Regions from separate parts of the Homo sapiens genome. Here region 2 is linked to region 1. The links are contacts of gene promoters, found by promoter capture Hi-C in human tissues and cell types (Jung and others, 2019). All regions are on one chromosome and are shown on one strand. The core of a region is centred on a gene start or on the middle of the fragment in contact, and the rest is flanking DNA. Distances in the headings are between cores, read along the strand shown.

The links. The method cuts DNA at HindIII sites, captures the fragments that hold promoters and counts their contacts. A contact is called where the count stands out against the background at its distance.
Region 2: a fragment that was not itself captured here is called in contact with the fragment with the promoter of TMPRSS6 in region 1 in 7 of the 25 tissues and cell types used here (H1 embryonic stem cells, IMR-90 fibroblasts, heart left ventricle and 4 more).

Annotation. Positions count from the first base shown.
Region 1 is chr22:37,108,350-37,111,213 of GRCh38, reverse strand. It overlaps TMPRSS6 (transmembrane serine protease 6), which reads left to right and starts at 1,501. Exons shown (of 18, transcript NM_001374504.1): 1 at 1,501-1,711. RefSeq lists an enhancer at 2,770-2,864. The HindIII fragment of the contact is 35,568 bases long and covers 1-2,864 here.
Region 2 is chr22:37,188,647-37,191,467 of GRCh38, reverse strand. It overlaps a transcript of C1QTNF6 not described here. Among named protein-coding and RNA genes, the nearest start is that of C1QTNF6, 1.8 kb to the right of the region's middle. RefSeq lists enhancers at 1,578-2,211, 2,212-2,821. The HindIII fragment of the contact is 4,689 bases long and covers 1-2,821 here.

The sequences.
Region 1 (2,864 bases), core at 252-2,751:
ACCTCTCACACAAATCTTATACCCCACACACAATCCCTACGCTCCACACACACACACACACACACACACGCACATTCTACACATACATAATCTACACACACAAATTCCAGACTGTCTCTCTTACACACACACTCTGGGACCCATATGCCCACAGCACACAGCATCTCAGGCGTGCACCCCGCATTCTGGCCTCAGGATGTAGACTCGCTGAAAGTCAGCCTTGTCTGAGACAGACGCCCGCTGCCCTGCACGCACCCTAGAAAGCCCTGGCTCCCATCCGGCACTTCGGCACGCATATGGCTCAAACCCATCTCCACAGCAACGCTGTTCCATAGAACAACAACGCAGGTCACACTTGTGACTTAACCTGTCTAATATCCACATGCAACAAGGGGTGTGGTGGCCCGCGCCTGTAATCCCAGCTACTTGGGAGGCTGAAGCAGGAGGATCATGTGGGCCCAGGAGCTCCAGACCAGCCTGGCAACCTAATGAGACCCTGTCTCTGAAAAAAAAAAAAACAAGAGAGCCAGAAGAAAATTGCTTTTAATAATACATTTTATTTATCCCATGATCACCAGTGTTATTTCAACATAAAATCAATATAAAAATTGTTATCGCGTTGGTTGACATCCTGTTTGCACTTGGCCTTGGAAACCTGGTGTGCGTCTCCCCCGTGCAGCTTTTCTCAGTTCAGACTGACTCAAGAGCCACGGGTGACCAGCGGCTACCGTCATGGACAGCACAGCGCTACGGAACCAGGTAGGAATTCATGCTGCGTGCGGTCGCTCATGCCTGTAATCCTAGCGTTTTGGGAGGTCGAGGTGGGTGGAATCACTTGAGGTCAGGAGTTCGAGACCAGCCTGGCTAACATGGTGAAACCCCATCTCTTCTAAAATTATGAAAATTAGCCGGGCATGGTGGTGGGCGCTGTAATCCCAGCTACCTGGGAGGCTGAGGCAGGAGAATTGCTTGAACCCGGGAGGCGGAGGTTGCAGTGAGCCGAAATCACACCACTGCACTCTAGCCTGGGTGACGGAGTGAGACTCCATCTTAAAAAAAAAAAAAAAAAAAAAAAAGAACGAGGTAGGAATTCAAATAATTCCCAGCTAAACAGAAAATAGCATCAAACCCCACCCCTGCCTCCCCTTTCTCCTCTCCAGTCCCCAGAGTATATGGGCCCAGCCTCCTTTTCTCTCTCTCAGGCCAGCAGCTCCTTTAGTCTCGCCTGTCCAGGTAAGCACCTGGACTCACCCTTGTGAGCCCCTGCACTCACCTGCACCGGCCTCTGCACAGTCCCCAGTCCTTGGCTGTCCCTACCTCATGCTCTCGGGGACCAGGGGCTGTAACCAGGCAGGCATGTCACCAGGCAACGGGCCTCGGGGGAGAGCTCAGATCTCCCGCACCTGCCTGCCAGCCTCTGGGGTGCCCATGCGGGGGTGGGGGAAGATGGGGCGGGGCAGGCACTGCCTTCTCCTACCTCCTGCCTGTTTACCTGTACTTAGTCACAGTGCTGTCCAGGACCCAGCAGGAGGAGTTCCATGGAGCCTGAGGCCACAGGCCACAGGGGACAAGGGCCAGACACCCTGGTCATGGCTCTAGGCCATTGATCCAGCCTGGGCTGGCTGGGTGGGGGTGGGGAGGCCTTGGCCTGGACAAACAGAGGCTCCTGAGGCCTGTGTGCAGGCCCGGCACCTATCTGCCGCTCCCAAAGGTAAGCGGGGGCCTCCAGGACAGGGGACCGGGATCTATAAATGACCTAGTGACAGTGTCCACCCTAAGAGCTGGGCCTGGCTCCCTGCAGCCTGAGCCACCTACCCTGCTCCGAGGCCAGGCCTGCAGGGCCTCATCGGCCAGAGGGTGATCAGTGAGCAGAAGGTGAGGGGCCCACAGAGCTGGGGAGGGGAGGGACCACGCAGGGTGACACCAGGTGTGTGGACAGGCACAGCATCAGTGCTGGGTGGTTGGTGGCCTGGGATTCAGGTGGCAGGGACAGGAGGAAGGGAGAGGCCACCCTACCCCTGCCTCGCAGGACTGGACATGCTGCCCCCTCCACACCCGGTACCCCACCTGGGCCTTCTGGTGTAGGAGACAGGCCCGGAGCCCCACATTGCACCTATGTACTGACTTAAGCCCAGGACCCTGGGCTCACAGGCTCAGAGTTGGCATGTATGTGTATGTGTGTTCGTGTGTGTGTCTGTGTAGGAAGGGCGTGCATCTATGAATTTTTGTGTCATGAATAGATGTGCGTATATCCCTCCGCGTGTCTCCATCTGTGTACATCTGTGGGTCTGTGAGTGTGTTTATATGTGTGGAAGGGACCCCCACCCAGTCCCCCACACTCTCAGGACTCTAGGGCCTAATGGTTTCACTGAAAGATGCCCCTATGGCCCTAGCCCAGAGTCCCTGCTCTGCTCTGCTCTGCCCTGGCTGAGGGACCTCGGGTAAGTCATGTTACCTCTCTCTACCTCAGTTTCCCCAGCCATTAAATAGAGTCAGCAAAGTAGGCACCCCAGGCTGTTGGAGGCTGCAGTGGAGTTTGCAGCACTGCCCAGCACAGGGCTGGCACATGGTAGGAGTTCATACGCAGTGGTTGAATCCGGATCTGCATTGCTGGGGGAGTCGCGGCCCCGCCCCAAGGAGCTCAGCCTCCAGCAGGCAGACCCGAGACCCTCCAATGGCCAGAAGGGCAGGAGGGAGTGAGGAGCAGGTGCCAGGGTGGGGTCCATGGTGCTCAGAGCTGGGGGACTGCTTCAGGCCCCTGTGGCAATTGGAGCACAGTCCCCGCTTCCAGGAGTTCAATGTGAGGGGCAAAGAGAGAGTGCCCACAGGTAAGCTGCACATCGCGAGGGGCAGCCGCCCCTTCT
Region 2 (2,821 bases), core at 207-2,706, 80 kb before region 1:
AATGACATATTTGGCTTATTTGGTACATTAAAATAATACAGGAAGCATTGTCAAATATGAAATTGTGTTTGGCTTTCTTTGGGCTGTGTTTATATAAATATGTTATTGGTATGTGTTCCAAAATTATGGGAAACTCCTATAATTCTGATATGAACATTATCAATACTAATGGACATTATCAATAATAATTATAATTGTTATGATGTTAATTTATTATATGCCACAGAGGTATCCACATTTCCTAGTCAATGATATTAATTCTTTAACCATGACTGCTCTAAGTCTTTCTGTCATCCATAGACAATTGTTGTCTTGCTTTTATTCTCTTCAAAAGGTGGTTTATAATCAGCTATAGGACTCTGATGAGTACTCTTAAATGCAGAGAAAAAGAAAACATCATCCAAGACTCTTGGAAAACTAACACATATATATCAAGCAAAACAGGAATTAATTGCATAGACTGAACTAATAAAAGACTGAAATAATCTTTTATGACTTTTTGCTTAAAATGTTGTTGATCTTTCTGTTTTGTTTTTCAGAGTCAAGAAACCCCCCCTTCTTGAGCTATTTACAGCTTTTAACAATTGAGTAAAGTACGCTCCGGTAAGGATTATAAAACAAAGTTTTGTCCAAAAACAAAATTTGGAATATGTTTTTTTCTCTTTACCTGATTTCTGCAGAATTTGGAAACTATTTGTGAGTGTTCTTAACTTACGGCAATATAGTTATTTGCATAAGTGCAGTAAGAATCTGTTTTTCCTTCTTTCTTCTTTTTTTTTTTTTGTAACAGGACACAATTGGAGAAACTGGTTATTTAACAAGGGTTTGACTCGAGTGGCATGCTTTCAAATATAAACAGACTTCTTTAAGGAATTAAAGTTGACTAATAGAGCCAATAAAAGCCTCTTGGAAAAACTGGTCTTGTACCTTGTGTATGAAGTCCCTGTATAGGGTTCCTGACCTGTGGTAAGTAAAGAATGTAACTTTCTGACAGGCCTGGGAGCCCCGAGTTATCTCGGGACCTCAAGAGGAGAGGAATTTATCTAACTCATACAGGTTCTTGCAGGCATAGGTAAATCCATGGCTGGGCTCAAAGCTTTAAAACATCTAATCTAAGATACCTTATGAAACAAAGCCAATTTTAAAAGGAGCCTGTATGGCAAATAATTATACTTGCTGCACTTTATGCAAATAATGAAGCCAAGTATAATAAGACTAAAGCTTATTTTGCAAATAAATTGGTCCTACCATGATTTGTTTTTAATAAAAAATGGGAGACTGGAGAGAGAAAAACGGTGTTTCAAAAAATATGGTACACCTGTCATAGATTCTAGTCTCATCCATTGTTTTTGAGTTTTTTGTCTGCAATTTAGACTGACCTTGCTTCTTTCTGTGAACCAAACAGTCATCTCTTGACTGCTTCTCGTCAGAAACAAGAGGGATGGATAACATAAAAATCTGGATCAGTATCTAATTCTGAGCATGTATTGGAATCGTCTAGCAACTCCGTATCAGCTCATCTAGCAATTCCTGTGACTAAGAATGCCTAACCTCCTGGGAATGCAGCCCAGTAGGTCTCAGCCTCATTTTACCCGATAAGTCACAGGCATTCTTGCCCAGTTCATGGAAAGCCTTCTTATTTGGATTACTTGGGATAATTTTACTTATTTTACTTTGCTGTTGTAGAATATATTGCTGCTATACTCTTTGTGTAAGAATGCAAGATAAGCTTACTCAGTGCTTCCTTAAATTGAACACATTAATCTTCCAGATATCACCTTTTGTTAGGACTCAGAGTTACAAATGACTCTGAACACACCAACATTTTCTTACTCAGTTCCTCTCTGCACCAAACCCAAGAGACTCTAATAGTTAGGCAGGAATATCATCGCCTCTATTCAGCCTGAAGAAGTTACAGAAGATGGATCTTCATGCCTCTACAACCCTTAAGATTAAACGTTCCCTCGTAAAAGAGAGTAGGGAAATATGTCAGAGGTGTTCAAAATAGGGCAACTCCATCTTGAATAGGGGCTGGGTAAAATGAGGCTAAGACCTGCCAGGCTGCATTCCCAGGAGGTCAGGCATTTGTAGTCACAGGAAGGGATAGGAAGTTGGCAGGACTGGTATCACAAGATACAGGTCATCAAGACCCTGCTGAGAAACAGTATGCGGTAAACAAACCAGCCAAAACCTGCCAAATCTAAGATTGCAATGAAAGTGACATCTGGTCATCCTTATTGCTCATTGTATGTTAATTAAAATGTGTTAGCTTGCTAAAACACACTTCTACCAGCACCAAGACAGCCTACAAATACCATGGCAATGTCCGGAAATTACCCTATATTGTCTAAAAGGGGGAGGAAGCCTCAGTTTCAGGAAATTCCCACCCCTTTCCTGGAAAACTCATGAATAATCCACCCCTGTTTAGCATAGGATCAAGAAATAACTATAAAAATAGCCAACTAGCAGTGCTTGGGGGTGCTCTGCCTATGGAGTAGCCATTCTTTTGTTTCTTTGCTTCTCTAATAAACTTGCTTTCACTTTGCTCTGTGGACTTACCCCAAATTCTTTCTGGTGCAAGATCCAAGAATTCTCTCTTGGGGTCTGATCAGTACCCCTCTCTGGTAACACTTGCATGATACCTGAGGAGGTCAGCCTGGTCATTCACCCAACAAACATGGGTTAAGCCCTCCCATGTGCCTGGCACAAAGGGGGCTGAGGACTGCAGTTCTGGAACACCTAGGCTCTGAGAGGCGACGCGACTGTGGTAGCAGGGCCAGGATTCTAGCCTGTGCCTGGAGGGCCAACACCTGCACCTTCT